Linked DNA regions of Homo sapiens: regions 1 and 3 are each linked to region 2. Evidence: promoter capture Hi-C in 16 types of primary human blood cells and fetal thymus (Javierre and others, 2016). All regions are on one chromosome and are shown on one strand. Each heading gives the region's core, a stretch centred on a gene start or on the middle of the fragment in contact. The rest is flanking DNA. Distances are from core to core; before and after follow the strand shown.

Region 1 (2,700 bases), core at 199-2,698, 430 kb after region 2:
GGCATGCCTGTGAAATACTTAAGTGAAAGCTACACAAATGATCACAACAATAAAATTCTTATTAACTCACATATAAAACATATTATGGTATTTGCAGCTAGGTGTTGCTATGGCAACAGTTAAAAAAATTTTTTTAAACATTTGTCACACTAAATGAAGTATGGGATGTACTTTTTTGTTAACTGTGAATTTACATGACCTGCAACACGACAATGGCTTAATGGGAGCTAAACAAAGGGTGCAGTTTCCCCTCCCTCTTCCTGCCTGTTTCCCCTTTCTCCTAGGAGCCATTTCAGGCTTTCTATCTTGATTAACTGTGTCTTAGTAATTGGAGCTTACAGCTCAGAACAGTAATTCTGTCCCATAATTGTAGATGTTAAATTTTAATTCTACTCTGTAATTGGCAATAATCAGGCCATGTTCTGGCTTTTCTGGAGTGCTCAATTAGAGGCCTGTGGCCTCCTCTTTCTTCCCCTTCCAGCAAAGCATCTATTCTTGACTCATCCCCATCTGAATGATTGTGTCTATAGTTAAAAGATATGATAAATATTCTTAGATTTGGAAGACTTTGAAAAGGAGTATCCTAATTACTATTGTTCACTTGATTGAAAATTTCCCAGCTCTAAAGCTACATTCTGTTAAACATGGGGTCACTGAAGCTTTCATTTGCTTCAAAAAAAGGTCATTTTATGTGGTCAGCAGCTAACAGTATAAAATAATAGTAATTTTATTTCTATTTCTTTTAAACAAAGAGAACTTTTTCTAAATTAAAGAAAACAGAAAAGGAAAACATAAGATTAATTGGGTTTTCACTTAGCATATTTCTGAAGCAATTTGCCTTCCCTTAAAAAGACAGTTTCTCCAAGTGTGTTATTATTCAAAATACTCCTACCCAAAGGTTTCCCTAAGAAAGGAGCCCCTGTTTTTAAAATGCCCTGCATTATATACCGCTTTGGGAGGTTTGCAGTATGTTCTAGACATTTAAGACCTCTGATGATTCCTGCAATAACAAACGCTATTTGGTTTACTTTTAACTTTTCAAAGCTTAGATTAACCCATTGCTTCCCAGATAACTGTAAGACACTGCTTTCTTGTGACTTACATTGAACTGTGCTTATAATTCACTCACCCATTTTTAAGTCCAGAGCTTCTACTGTATAAACATATTAAGGTAATCATGTTAGGGTTCTAAAAATTCCTGAAAATGCATAATTAAAGGGGAAATGATTAAGTTCCTTTTTAAGAAAGCAAAATAAATGCTGCCTTTAGAAAAAGACATGCTAAAGCTTGTAAGATTAAAATTAAAAATAAAATCATTTTTTAATAGCAGAGTTTCTCAGCCATGGCTCTATTGACATTTGAAGCCAGATGCTTTTTGTTATGGGGGTGTCTATCTTATGCACTGTAGGATGCTAGGCAGCATTTCTGGCTTCTACCCATTACATGCAGTAAGGGAGGGAAAAATGGCTTCCCTCCACCCTTCTACATTCTTTGACTATACTACGAACTAAACTGACATAAGACAGATTAATAGGAGAAAAAAATAGGTAATTATGTACATACGCACAGGAGTCCCACAAAATATGAGAGTCTAAGAAGAGCCAGGTAATTGAAGCTTATATAGCATCCTGAGCTACAGAAAGGAATAGTGGCTTGGGGCTTCTCTGGGGAGGTGGCATCAAGTCATGGGCAGGTGAGAGGAAGAAATGTGTGGTGAATGAAGCTTGTCTTGCTGTACAAATAAAAAGTCTCTCAGGTATAAAACTTGTCTCTAAGCAGCCCTCTTTCTGACACAGATACTTTGACTAATGTAGATTTCCTTTATAGATGTAATTTTTTACAAAATTTTTACCAAAGGACAGTTTCATCATAGCGACTCTTATGTCTGCAGTTTTTCAGAATAGCCAGCTCTAAATATGCTAAAGAAGTATATTTAAGGGTGACATATTCTGATCTCCTATAGTCATTTTTTGAGTTGATGTATCCTGAGCCCCAATAGTTCTTAACGTAATTGAGGGGCAAGTCCAAGAAATTTTCAAAGAGAACACTGATCAAGTGCTTTGGCTTTGTACCTTTAAAGCACAACAGAGCTCTGCCTGTCTTATTAAAAAGGACTTAAAAAGGAAATTTGACTTTTATTCTTAGGTCACTGGTTAATAGCTGCTCAAAAACTCTTCTAGTTTGAAAACTCTCAGAACAAAATGAAGGATAAAAAAGTAGACCAGACCTATGTAGAAGGAATCTTAGAGTGAAGTGGGTAGACCAGCATGCCAGAGACTTCCTCAGAGACCAAGTCCCCAAAACTGTGATTGCTTCTTAAAGACTAAATTCATTTACAGTGGTAATATGGAGCCATGGAGGAAAATTTCACTTTTCAAGACACTTTTTCCCTGACTCCAGTCCCAGTACATATTCTCTTGCGTTTATAAGTTTGTCACTTAACGGGGGTCCATATAGTCTTAACTCCCTGGTTGAGAGACATACTAGAGCAGTGATTCTCAAAGTGTGATCTAGGGACCTCTGGGAATACTGAAGATCCATTCAGGAGATCCAGAATGTCAAAACTATTTTCACAATACAAAGATGTTAGTTGTCCTTTTCACTCACATTCTGTCACAAGTACACAATGGCGTTTTTTGGATGTGTGATCTCACAAGAGACTGAATGCAGAAGCAGATATGAAAATCCAGCTATCTTCTA
Region 2 (2,798 bases), core at 112-2,611:
TCAAAAGCCAAGGTCCCTCTCGCCCCTTCCGATCCTTGAGTAGTAACTGCGTTCATGCAATTAAACTAGCCTGTTTAATAGAAGCTGCAGGAAAACTGATAACTATGTATTCAAAAACATGTAATTTTATGCCTGAGTTTTAAGTCATTTAGATTTTGCAGATTGCTATTTATTTTATGTTCAGTTTTTGAAATAAATGCTTAAAAAAAACGCTTTAGTACTAGGCTTGAATACTGAAGACTTTAAATATAACAACAGACCAGGAGAGGAGCAGAAGTGTGGGAACTTTAAACCTATTTCTTTCTTAATCCCCTCGGAGAGCTAGACTGGAACACTGGCTGGATCTTCCAACATTTCTGGGGGTGCTCTCTGTTCTTTGCGGTGGCCCTGCCGCCAGGTGAACGCTGCCGGTGGGAGAGCACACACTTAGTGCGGCCAGCTGACCTTCACAGTCTGGGGGGAAATTTTAAAGGATTGTGGAGAAGAGGCCTTGAGACTTCAAGAGGAAGAAGAAAAAGGGGCCCAATGAAGCCTGAGCCTCCCAGGAGGTAGAACTGAGTTAATGAACAGGGCTGATTATCCAAGGTAATTATGTAAAAGAGAAGGCTAGGAGGAGTTCTAGATGGCTGCAACTTGGAGTTTACTCTGCCTAAGGTGAGTGTTTATGTTTCTGTGTTTTTGCTTCTCCGGCAAGGTTTTGTTTTGTTTTGTTTTTTTCTTCCCTGTTCCCTTCACCCAAGGCTCAGTGTGCAAAAGCAGCTCGCTCTGCGTGGCAGACCCCATTCTAATCCTTCTCTTTCCTTAGATTCTGAGCCCGGTTAGAATTAGCCTCCGCATCACGGGCTCCTGGGACCCTCCGCTCTATGCTCCTCGAGGAGGGAGCAGCTGTGTTCATCCCCCTACCCGCAAATGCCTCCGGTTCTTATTTGGCAGACACTCCCGCGGTGCTGCTGTCCAAAGACACACCTTCCCAGCCAGCCCAGTGGTCACGTCTCGCCCCAGCGATTCGGGAGAAGCAGTGGGAACTCTGAGCTCCCCGAATCGAGCCCGCTGCGCCTGGCATCTCCCTTCCCTTCCCCTTGACAAACGACCCAACCTCAATCATCCCTGCTCCTTCCGAACGCTAGTTTTGTTTACGGAGCAAACCGAGGCTTTGAGCAACCTGCGGTTGCACGGCTCTCCTTCGGCTTGGGGAGGGAGGGGTAGCGTTCACAGTTCTCCAGTGTGCCATAGACTGTTAGACCAGATCCTTCAGATCTAGAGGCACACGCAGTGGGTGACAGGAGAGTGCCCCCTCCCCCCGGGCGGGTGGGGGTGGGGAGAGGAGCAGGGACTCGGCTTGGAGAAGGAGGCAGGGAGGCAGCTGCAGTGCTGCGAGGGGTGCGTGCGCGTGTGCCCAGCTCGCCTGCCGTCTCCCGGCTCCGTCTGCGCTCCTCGGTGCGTGGGGCACGAGGGTCCGAGGGCCGGGAAGCCAGAGCAGCGCCTCTCGCCCAGGCCTCGCTTTCTCTGGACGCCCGGCAGTCCCCGGGGCTAGAGCGCACGGGGCGGGGCGCGAGACCCGGGCCGCGCTCCCCGCCCCCGCCTCTTGCGCCCTGCCTGGCTCCCTCTCCATTGAGTTTTCCTGCCTCGGGTGCCTATCAATGGTCCTGCTCGGGGATGCACACGCAGCTCGCGGCCGGAGGGGGGTAGCAGCCGCCGCCTCCAGGTGCAGGTTCTCTCCGGCCGCCGCCGCCACCCGCTGTCGCCGCGACTCGAGCCCCGGGCGCACTGAGGTCTTGGCCATGGGGCTGCGGAGGCTGCTGTTGCTGGCGTGAGAAGGGGCGACGGAGTTGTCGCGCTCGGGGGTCCCCAGCTGCCTGCATGGATGTCTTCAGCTTTGTGAAGATTGCAAAGCTTTCGAGGTAGGGGCTGCGCGGGTTCCGTTTGCACCCAGGGCCGCTGCCGCGGGCAACTTGGTGCCTTATTTTTCGGGAGGCTGGGTAGAGGCAAAAGCTGGAAAGCGCGACGGGGCTTAAGACAAACGAAGTGGCCGGGGGCTTCCACGTTCAACTTATTTCTCACTGGCTGCTGAGGCTTGTGTAGCGGCGGGTGTAGACCACACACAGAGAGGTACATACATGCCCTCACCAACACACCGACATTCACGACAGTTTGTTTTCCCTAAGGAAAAGCCCCAGCGGTGTTTGGGGTCCCATGTATAATTCAGGGCTAAGAGAAGATGGTTGTAATTGCTACTGCTAGGGAAACCCAGAAGTGCTTGGAGCTTGGGTGCCTGCCTTCCAAGCTGCAAAGACCAAAAGTGCCGCCTTCCCCCAACTCCTAAATTACACCTCCACACCTCCACAAAGTCAGCTCCTAGATTGACCAGGTGCTCCCAACGGTAACCTAGATGGCGAAGTCATGTAGATAGAAGAGAAAGACTTTCAGCCTTTTTTTTTTTGGGGGGGGGGTAACTATATTCTTAAGCCTCGAAAGATTTAGAAATTTTCTTCTAAGTGGCCATGTTGTTAAAACAGTAGCTAAAACTAAATCATCGATTCAGACATTTTTGGGTAGTACTGATAAAAGAGGAACATTTCCACGCTTGGGCCGCCTAGGTGTTGCCTGGCCAGAGCACTCCTCCAGGTCTTCTGCCCTGCTTATGCTTCCAAAGTCTTCGTTTGAGCCACAGAGTAAGGTTTGTGCTGCTTGCTATGTGGCATTAATTGGGAAGAGCCCAATAGGAGTGGTCTTAGAAAACCATGCCCAACCTTCTCTGCCCCTGGAGCTCTTTATAGCAGCTACCACCAGGACGTAGG
Region 3 (2,700 bases), core at 142-2,641, 510 kb after region 2:
CAGAAAAAGGCTTCTCTGAATAGCCCCACTACTCTGCCCAGGCTGAATGGAATGTCAAGCTCTAGGCCACCCCAACACAAGTCTCCTTAAGCAGCAGACCCAGCCCAGGTTGGAATCTGGCATAACTTGGAAGCTGAAAGATGACCTAACTAGCCACATTTCAAATTCAAGCTGAAAGTACCACTCACATTTAATCAGTTTCTGGAGATCTATATGGAAGCCTTTTATTTCCACTTCTTTAAATGAACAGCAGTTCATTTACCTGGAGAAACTGCATGTGAATAACAGCAAAGCAAGTCGAGAGTGAGTTATTAACTATGCAAACTGACTACTTAACCTGTTCTTTTCAGACTTCCCCTAACAGTTTTATTGAGGATATGCTTAAAAACATATTTAGATGATACATTGCATGAGTTTCAAAGAGACCATTAAGGTCTCATTTGGGCAGAGAAAAATGAATTTTTAAAGGAACCATTAATGTGTGTTTTTATAATTGTGTCTTATGGTATTTTTAATATTGCTACCATTTATCAAATATGAAAAATAAGACTTTACAATATTATCAAAATAATATTCATACGGTAGTAGTCTCATACCCATTAAATATTATCTGCTAATCCTTTACCATTGTTCCTAACATATTATGATTCATTCAGATCTCATTAGATTTTATTTCATACTGCTTTTCATGCATAGTATCTCATACTATGCATCAGGTAGTTTTTAACACTCTCACTCTTTTTTTTTTTTTTTTTTTTTTTTTGAGATGGAGTCTCACTCTCGTTGCCTAGGCTGGAGTGTAATGGCACAATCTCAGCTCACCACAACCTTCACCTCCCGGGTTCAAGTGATTCTCCTGCCTCAGCCTCCCGAGTAGCTGGGATTGGAGGCATGCACCACCACGCCCGACTAATTTTGTATTTTTAGTAGAGACAGGGTTTCTCCATGTTGGTCAGGCTAGTCTCGAGCTTCCGACCTCAGGTGATCTGCCCACCTCAGCCTCCCAAAGTGCTGGGATTACAGGCGTGAGCCACCGCACCTGGCCAAAACTCTCACTCTTTAATGCAATTTTTATTTGCCTTTTCTTATCCCCTTACCTCCCTATAGGACATTTTTCCTCTCTTACCTAGTTGAAAATTAATCTTCCTCGGACATTAAGGAAACTCAAGAAAAAAATACTTAGTTTAAGAAACAAAAATTTGCTCATATTTGTAAATAGATTTTCGCATGCATTTTGGTTTGCACCCTTTTCAATTCTGAAACTCTGAACTCTAGTTTTGGACATGAGATTAAGCTTCCATTTGATGGCAGGAGTGAAAAATACAGGAACATTAAAAACGGAAATCACGATCTCCACCAACCCTGTTCTTCATAGCCTTGAGAGTAGAAAGAGTAAAAGGCAAAGATAGTGTTAAACTCCAATCTGTTATTATTTTAGAGGATAGATAAGGAATTAGTCTAAGCTATGTTCTCAGGTTCTGTAGGAAGGAAGCTTTTCCACTAATTCTGTTTTTCTTGCTTTTCCTTTGTTTCTAACCCCAATGGATACATACTTTTGAAAAGTAATCTTTATATAATGTTTCATGTAGTAATTGAATAGCTTGTATGAGTGAAACATTTTTCTTTTTTATATAGCCAGCCCAAATGCAGACTGTAAGTCCTATTAATATAAAACAGAAAGGTCTCAAAATTCAGTTGCAGGGTTAGTGTGCCCCAAGTTCATCTTCAAAGCAGTATTTCCCAATAGACAGGAAAATGAGATTTCTCTCTGCTTTGCCATGGATAAAGTATCACTATTGATCAATTTATAAATAATTTTTCTAGGTTGAGGCTAAATTCAAACATGGGAGGCACACTTCAGAAATTTAGTATAAATCCCCTAACCTCTTTCCCTCAGAGAAAATTTTATCATGGTTCACTGAAAATCTGTCAACTTTCAGAGAGGATTGGAACATTGCTAGGTTTTCTGAGATTTGAGGTGCCATTTCAAAATAGCTGTGTTTGAACTATGTACCTATCGTTCCTTAACCTAATTTTTACCTGCAGTAAGAAGGTATATTCCATCCTGTAGCTGTTTATAAACAGTCTCTGCAAACATTGTCTTCGAATTGAAGCTTCTTCGGGGATATCATCTCTATTCCTTGCCAACATTAAAAATAGTATTTCTCTGTTTACATTTGTCTCCTCTTCCCTTCTATGTATACGAAAGTTACCAACTGGAAAAATAGTTTATGGTCTTTACCATTGCCTTATTGTTAATATTCAAATACATGTTCAATCCTGGTAAAGCTCTATATTGTTCCAATTCTGATACATCTAAATTGGGAGGTAGTGGCTATGACCACTAACCCCTAGGAACAACTGGGAGCCCCAGCTCCTTCTGGCTCCAGGATAACGTTATACATAGGCTCCCCTTAGTTAATTTCACCTGAATCTCTCACCTTTTTATTCTTGAACCGCTCAAAATGTGAGGCCTCAGGACACAGATTTCCTCTGGCACCTGCTTCTCTGTGACACCTGGTTCTTCCTTCTCCATGACTTAACACGTTCCCTATGACTAATTGATCTTAGTTTTGGTTCCTTCACAAGCCAACTCTGACACAAGGATTTGTGTGTGTATAGATAATCTAGGGCGTGATCCCAGGAAACACCAGCCAGAGACTAGAGATGTGAGACCAAAAAGGAAGACAACCAATAAAA

What was found. The method cuts DNA at HindIII sites, captures the fragments that hold promoters and counts their contacts. A CHiCAGO score of 5 or more calls a contact.
Region 1: a contact is called between a fragment that was not itself captured here and the fragment with the promoter of FRMPD4 in region 2, in 1 of 17 cell types (total B cells). The highest score is 5.5, in total B cells.
Region 3: a fragment that was not itself captured here is called in contact with the fragment with the promoter of FRMPD4 in region 2 in 1 of 17 cell types (naive B cells); the score reaches 5.0 in naive B cells.

The regions. Positions count from the first base shown.
Region 1 is chrX:12,571,184-12,573,883 of GRCh38, forward strand. All of the region lies in intron 2 of FRMPD4 (FERM and PDZ domain containing 4), which reads left to right. Among named protein-coding and RNA genes, the nearest start is that of FRMPD4-AS1, 200 kb to the left of the region's middle. The HindIII fragment of the contact is 329 bases long and covers 1,285-1,613 here.
Region 2 is chrX:12,137,112-12,139,909 of GRCh38, forward strand. It overlaps FRMPD4 (FERM and PDZ domain containing 4), which reads left to right and starts at 1,362. Exons shown (of 17, transcript NM_001368397.1): 1 at 1,362-1,901. The coding sequence starts at 1,861. The HindIII fragment of the contact is 1,954 bases long and covers 1-1,891 here.
Region 3 is chrX:12,644,610-12,647,309 of GRCh38, forward strand. All of the region lies in intron 4 of FRMPD4 (FERM and PDZ domain containing 4), which reads left to right. Among named protein-coding and RNA genes, the nearest start is that of PRPS2, 150 kb to the right of the region's middle. The HindIII fragment of the contact is 198 bases long and covers 1,293-1,490 here.